Linked DNA regions of Homo sapiens: region 1 is linked to region 2. Evidence: promoter capture Hi-C in 16 types of primary human blood cells and fetal thymus (Javierre and others, 2016). All regions are on one chromosome and are shown on one strand. Each heading gives the region's core, a stretch centred on a gene start or on the middle of the fragment in contact. The rest is flanking DNA. Distances are from core to core; before and after follow the strand shown.

Region 1 (4,070 bases), core at 797-3,296, 63 kb before region 2:
CAGACCCCAAGGACTTATCTCCATAGTTCTGCAGTATGGCTTAGGCACATGGTATTTTATTTTCATATTTTTTTCTATTTATTTTAATATATAAAACATACACATGCCAGAAAATATAAAAAGTACGAAGTGTTGGTAATCACTGGAAGTAGGTAATAGATGCATGGTTCACTATACTGTTCTCTCTACTTTTATCTACTCTGAAATTTTCCATAATAAAAAGTTCTTTTGACTTAAAAAAAAAAAAACAAACCTGATAACAGGCAGAAATTCAGATCTACACAAAGGAATAAAGAGCACCATGTATGGTTCATTAAATGAGTAAATTTATAATATGTTATTATTTAAATATATTTTAAAGATAAATGACTATTTAAAATGCATTGTAGAAAATATAACATACATAAAAACAAAATGTTTGACAATAGCAGCATTAAAACTAAGAAGGAGTCCTCGGCAAAGCCCGAGTCCTGTCCTCTCGCCCTCCTCCCGGAACAGCATGAGCTTCACCACTCGCTCCACCAACTACTGGTCTCTGGGCTCCGTCCAGGCACGACCAGCGTCTATGCAGGTGCCGGGGGCTCTGGTTCCCGGATCTCTATGTCCCACTCCTCCAGCTTCTGGGGCGGCATGGGGTCCGGGGGCCTGGCTGTGGGAATGGCCGGGGGCCTGGCAGGAATGGGAGGCATCCAGAACGAGAAGGAGAACTTGCAAAGCCTGAACGACTGTCTGGCCTCCTACCTGGATGGAGTGAGGAGCCTGGAGACCAAGAACCGGAGGCTGGAGAGCAAAATCGGGGAGCACTTGGAGAAGGGACCCCAGGTCAAGAGACTGGAGCCGTTACTTCAAGACTATCGAGGACCTGAGGGCTCAGATCTTCGCAAATACCGTGGACAATGCCTGCATCGTGCTGCAGATTGACAATGCCCGTCTTGCTGTTGATGACTTTAGAGTCAAGTATGAGACAGAACTGGCCATGCACCAGTCTGTGAAGAGTGACATCCATGGGCTCCGCAAGGTCATCAATGATACCAATGTCACTTGGCTGCAGCTGGAGACAGAGATTGAGGCTCTCAAGGAGGAGCTGCTCTTCATGAAGAAGAACCATGAAGAGGAAGTAAAAGGCCTACAAGCCCAGACTGCCAGATCTGGATTGACCGTGGAGGTAGATGCCCCCAAATCTCAGGACTTTGCCAAGATCATGGCAGACATCTGGGCTCAATATGACAAGCTCGGAAGAACCGAAAGGAGCTGGACAAGTACTGGTCTCAGCCGATTGAGAAGAGCACCACAGTGGTCACAACGCCGTCTGCCAAGGTTGGAGCTTTTGAGGCGACACGACACTCACGGAGCTGAGACGTACAGTCCAGTCCTTGGAGATTGACCTGGACTCCATGAGAAATCTGAAGGCCAGCTTGGAGAACAGCCTGAGGGAGGTGGAGGCCCGTTACACCCTACAGATGAAACAGCTCAACGGGATCTTGCTGCACCTGGAGTCAGAGCTGGCACAGACCTGGGCAGAGGGACAGCGCCAGGCCCAGGAGTAAGAGGCCCTGCTGAACATCAAGGGCAAGCTAGAGGCTGAGATCACCACCTACCGCTGCCTGCTGGAAGATGGTAAGGACTTCAGTCTTGGTGATGCCCTGGACAACAGCAACTCCATGCAAACTATCCAAAAGACCACCAACCGCCAGATAGTGGATGGCAAAGTGGTGTCTGAGACCAATGACACCAAAGTTCTGAGGCATTAAGCCAGCAGCAGCAGGGTACCCTTTGGGGAGCAGGAGGCCAATAAAAAGTCCAGAGTTAAAAAAAAAAAAAAAAGCCTAAGAAGGAAGAAATGGAAGTATACTATTGTAATACTATACATGAATAGCATAATATTACTTAAAGGTAGATAGCAATAAGTTAAAGATGTATACCATAAACCCTAAAATTTAGAGTTGGCCAGGCACAGTGACTCACGCCTGTAATTCCAGTACTTTGGGAGGCTAAGGCAGGTGGATCACTTCAGGTCAGGAGTTTGAGCCTGGCCAACAAGGTGAAACCTCATGTTTACTAAAAATACAAAAATTAGCCGGGCATGGTGGTAGGTGCCTGTAATCCCAACTACTCAAGAGGCTGAGGCATGAGAATAGCTTGAGCGTGGGAGACAGAGGTTGCAGTGAGCCCAGATAGCACCACTGCACTCCAGCCTGGGTGGCAGAGTAAGACCCTGTCTCAATAAATAAATAAATAAATAAATAAAATTTAGAGTTTATCACTTAAATACCACAACAAAGAGTTATAGCTAATAAGCCAACAAAGAAGATAAAACAGAATCATAAAAAGTATTCAGCTAAACCAAAGGAAGACAGAAGAGAAGAAAAAAGGAATAAAGAAACATGGGTCAAATACCAAACAGGGCAAGATGACAGCATTAATAAAATCATTTCAGCAATTACTTTAAATGTAAATGGTCTAAACACCCTAAATCAAAGGCAAAGATTTTCAGATTGGATTAAAAAATAAGATTCAAGGCCCTTCATGGTGGCTTACGCCTGTAATCCCAGCATTTTGAGAGGCCAAAGTGGGCAGATCACCTGAGGTTGGGAGTCCAAGACCAGCCTGGCCAACATGGCAAAACCGCATCTCTACCAAAAATTCAAAAATTAGCTGGGCGTGGTGGCACATGCCTATAATTTCAGCTTCTGGGGAGGGTGAGGCAGGAGAATCATTTGAACCCAGGAGGCAGAGGCTGCAGTAAGCCAAGATGGTGCTACTGCACTCCAGCCTGGGGGACAGAGCAGGACTCTGTCTCAAAAAATAAAAAATCAATAAGATTCAACTGTATGCTGCCTATAAGAGACAGTACTTTATGTATATAAACACAAGGAGTTAAAAGCAAAATAATGGAGAAAGATACACCATGAAAATCAAAAGAAAGATGGAGTGGCTATATTAGTACCAGATAAAGCAGATTTCAGATAAAATATTACCAGGGAAAAAGAAGATCATTTCATAATGATAAAAGCATCAATTCATAAAAAGAATAATGCTAAATGTTTAGGCACACAGTAACAGAGCTTAAAGACATATGAAATGAAAACTGATATAATTGCAGGGAGGGCCGGGCACAGTGGCTCAGGCCTATAATCCCAGCACTTTGGAAGGCCGAGGCAGGTGGATCACTTGAGGTCAGGAGTTCAAGACTAGCCTAGCCAACATGGTGAAACCCTGTCTCTACTAAAAATACAAAAATTAGCCAGGCAGTAGTGGTGCGCACCTGTAATCCCAGCTACTCAGGAGGCTGAGGCAGGAGAATCTCTTGAGCCTGGGAGGTGGAGGTTGCAGTAAGCCAAGATTGCACTACTGCACTGCAGTCTGGGCGACAGAGGGAGACCCTGTCTCAAAAAATATTTTAAAAATTGCAGGGAGAAATTCACAAATCTACAATTATAGTTAGAGATTTCTACAACCCTCTCTCCATAATTGGGAGAACAAGTAAACAGAAAGTAAGTGTATAGAAGACTTGAAAAACACAATCAACCAACTTGACATATTTAACCCATCACAGTCCACTTTCAAGTAGTAATATATCATGGCCACTCTTGTTAAAAACTCTTGGCAAACTAGGAATAGAAGGAAATGTCCTCAACCTGATAAAGGGCATCTTCAAAAACCGACAACTAACATCATACTTAATAGAAAGACTAAATTCTTTCCCCCTAAGAAACAACTGGATATCCATATGGAAAAAAAAGAATTTTGTTCCATACCTGACACCATAATCAAAACATTACTCAAAGTGAATCAGATGTAAATGCAAAACCTAAAAGTATTAAACTTCTAGAAAAACAATAGAAGAAAATCTATCTGATCTTGGGTTAATCAAAGGATTTTGAGATATAACACCAAAAGCGTGACCTATTAAAAAAAACTGATAAATTAGACTTTATTAACATTTAAAGTTTCTGCTCTTCAAAAGACAGCGTTAAGTGAATGAAAAGCCAAGCTACAGACTCAGAGAAAATATTTGCAAGTCATATCTGACAAATAGCTTGTATGTAGAATATATAAAAACCTTCAAA
Region 2 (3,515 bases), core at 1-2,500:
CAACACATTGTCCTTGGTCAAGACTACAACGTAGAAAGGAACAAGCTAATTAACTACTTAGAATTCCCTCTCCTAAGAGACCACATCGCCAAAGTGGCACCATGACACAGCTTGGTGTTTTGTTGGTCACTTTAGGAGAACACCATTTTGGAGGCCTTGGGTGGAGCTGGAGATAGAGCCATGGAGGTAGAATCGTGTCGGAAAACCTGGGTTTAGCCCCATTTTGTACTTGGGCGTTTGAGCTAATCGCTTAAGTCACGTAAAACAACAAGACTAATAAAGTCTGGGATACAGACTTTAACACCTCAAGTGCTGCCAAAAGTATTTAGAAGACAAAGCGAATCATAGGCACCCTTCACCGAGCACCTCCTAGACATCAAGAACCATGCTAGGTTCCCTACATTCTTCATTTAATGCCAATAACCCCACGAGGCAGTTATCACCTTCATTCTACAAATGGGCCCCACTCCTACCAATTAACTGGCTGAATCAGGATCTGACCCCGGGCCTGCCAACGCTCCCGCTGGTGGATTGCCCGCCTTGTCAGCTCGAGTTGGCAGGACGTGGGAGTAAAAACCCGGCGCCCCAGCCTTCACCGTGCTGCACGAGGAAGCTGGCTAGGCAGGCATGACTTTGTCAGTCAACCATCCCGCAGCCGGGCCCTGGGCTTTGTTAGCAGCCACTTGGCGAGGGCCCCGGGCGGGTGGGGAGGCGGCGCTTCCTCCAAGAGGAGGTGGGACCCCGGCCCCGACGACCTCGGAGCCGCCCCCGGCCCCGGATCGCCGACGACGTACGTGCAGGCCTGGGGATGGGGCGCTGGCTGCGAGCGGCGCGCCCGCCGAGATGGCTGCGGCTGGCAGGGCGGTGGGCGAGGCCGGTGACCCAATAAAGCGGCCGGGCCGCGGGAGGCCCCGCCCGGCCGGGTTCCGGCACTCGCCGCAGGGTCCCGGCCGGCGGCAGGTTGCGCGCCCCCGTCCGCAGCGCTCGGCGTGAGGGCGGCTCGGGAGGAGGGTGTGAGCGCGCGTCGCCGGGCCGGGACCCGGCAAGCAGCGGGAAAGGCGGGAGGCGGGAGCGCCGGTCGCCCGGGAGCCGCGCGGAGGGGCAGGCGGGGCGGGGCGGGGCGCGGCCGGGGGCCCGGGCGGCCGGGAGCCGCGCCGCCCGCGGCAGGCCCGGGCCCTCGGCCCGCCCCGCGCGCGCGCCCCCGCCAGCCCGGCCCTCCTCCTCCCCGCCGCCCCTCCCGCGCGCGTCCACCGGCTCCCCGGCTCGCGCCGCTCCATGTAGCCCCGGCTCCCCGGGCGGCCGCGGAGGAGGGGGCGACCACAAGATGGCGGGTACGTGGCCCCCTGTTCTCCGGGCGGCGGCGGCTCCTCGAGCCCACCCGCCCTCCGCCGCAGCCCTGAGTGGCTGCCGGGCCGGGGCCGGCGTGGGGTCCCGGCGCGGGAAGGCGCCCCCGGGGCGGGGGGGAGGCGGGCGGGGGGGGGGCGTCGCGCCGGGCCCCGGGGCGCTGACCGGGCCTTTCTTCTCTCCCCTCGGCGCAGACCTCTCGCTGCTTCAGGAGGACCTGCAGGAGGACGCAGACGGATGTGAGTGGCCCGGCCTCGCGGTGGCCTGGCAGTCCGCGGGGAGCGGCCGGGGAGGGCGGGCGGCGGCGAGGCCTGGGCCGGGCCCTGGCTGGCTGAGGGGACGGTGGGCGAGGGCGGCCCCAGGCGGGCTGGGGTGGCGATCGGGGGGGAAAATCTCGCGTCCGTGAGGAAACGGCGCGCCCAGGTTCCGCTGGGGGAGGGAGACGCCCGGAGTAACGCCCAAGTTCGCTTTCCGCCCTTCGCTCTCTTCTCCCGGCGCCCCCGAATCGCCTGCGGGCTCAGCAGTGGCGCGGCTGTTTTGGAAGGAGAAGCGGTGGGGCAGGATTTGAAGTGGGGTTTGGGTGTGTTTCTGCCCCTGGTGTCCCCTTCCCCCGTCACTCTAGGAAGGAAGAGGCTCGCGCGGGAGGTGTGTTTCCTTAGAGTCGCTCTTCCAGGAGCGCCCGGGGGTCAGCCTGGGCCCCGGCTAGCCGTCTGGGCTCCCCGACCCGGTTTTGGATTGTTTGAGGATGACATACCTGTCATTTTACTTTGGCTGGTAGCAGTTTTCAGATGCTCCCGATTTGATTAGTGGATTACGAGAAGGTTAGAAGGTGTGGCCTCCGCAGGAATTACTAGGTTTGGAGAGCATATTTCTTTAATGCGGATGTTCAGAAATCACCCAGCCCTCCTTCAGTGTTAACAGTGCAGCTTTCCTTTGAGGTACTGAAGTTTTTAAAGAGTTGACGCTTTTATTTTTAAAAAGACAAAGTTTCTGACATTTCCTGATGGCGACGGAATTGATATTTAGAAAGGAATTTTTCGTCTTATATGTACTTTTCTAAGCCTCAGAAAATAATTTGGGTCACGATAGAAAAGACAAAAGAGTTAAGCAGGTTTGTATTGAAAGAAGTGACAAATTGCAGTTAACTTAAAATAGTTTCTATTCTTGCTAATCTTCCAAAATAGCGACCCATCAAAAAATCAATAGGTTTTGAGATGCATTTTAAAAATGCAGAGTGTGCAAAATATATAAGCGAAGATCATGGGATACATAAGGGACCAAGAAATTGTTCTGAGTTGAGATGATAACCATAGTAGGATTGTGGTCTGTTTAGTGGAAAGCCTACCGGATGCTGAGATTGACTGTCTAGTACCTGTATAAGTAATTTCAGAGATGGCTGCAGTTTGAAATTACTCTTTTAAATACTCTGTAGTTAATCCTTAGCATTGTCTAATGTGGTTCCCTTACTCAGAGTAAACTTAATTTTTAGATTCCTGGTTGTTTTGAGTAAAGTAAGGGGGATTTACTATTTAGATGGATTATCTGAAACGAGTAATTTATCTTTAAAGTAAATGAACCACATCCAAACTTTTGCTAAGTCTGTGTTTTTAGTGAGGTGGCTCAAAACAGCTCTCTTAAAGGGAGCAGTACTCATGTAGTGAAGGGCAGCTTTAACATTTTATTTAATGTTTACCTTAAGCCACTTATCTGCCTAATAGTAAGTTTGAGATATTATTTAAGGCATCTGTTGATTTCAGATCTCTTGCCAGGTTAGGATTGGAGAAATGGCCCTGATTATGTTACCTCGAGGAGGGCTTTTTATATTTATGTTCGACTTCGTAAATAGAAGATTCATTTATTCAGCAAGTATTTATGACTGGAGCAAAAACTTCTCACTCCTGAAGGATGAAATGCAGTCTCAGTTTCTTCCTTAGCCCCCAAGAAGCACAGTGTAGAGGGGAAGGCATACCTGTGAAAAATTCAACCATGAGTTTCAACACTCTGCCAGGTACTGGGGATGGAGCTTTGAGAAAGATGGGCACAACCCATGCCCTCTAGTGGTTTACAAGCAGTTTTGAATCTAGGTGTACAGTACAGTATTACAGTTACCACTGGAGCCAGGCTGCTCTGTTTGTCTTAGCAGTGTCTTTTTGGGCAGACTTGGGCAACTC

What was found. Contacts are between HindIII fragments. The CHiCAGO score rates a contact against its expected background, and 5 or more counts as called.
Region 1: a contact is called between a fragment that was not itself captured here and the fragment with the promoter of PPP4R1 in region 2, in 1 of 17 cell types (neutrophils). The highest score is 6.6, in neutrophils.

Annotation. Positions count from the first base shown.
Region 1 is chr18:9,675,924-9,679,993 of GRCh38, reverse strand. It overlaps the pseudogene KRT18P8. Among named protein-coding and RNA genes, the nearest start is that of RAB31, 30 kb to the left of the region's middle. The HindIII fragment of the contact is 6,758 bases long and covers 1-4,070 here.
Region 2 is chr18:9,612,294-9,615,808 of GRCh38, reverse strand. It overlaps PPP4R1 (protein phosphatase 4 regulatory subunit 1), which reads left to right and starts at 1,250. Exons shown (of 20, transcript NM_001042388.3): 1 at 1,250-1,331; 2 at 1,539-1,583. The coding sequence starts at 1,325. PPP4R1-AS1 (PPP4R1 antisense RNA 1) reads right to left here and starts at 1,002. Exons shown (of 3, transcript NR_110773.1): 1 at 795-1,002. RefSeq lists silencers at 554-1,063, 1,164-1,433, 1,534-1,783 and an enhancer at 2,054-2,133. The HindIII fragment of the contact is 7,461 bases long and covers 1-3,515 here.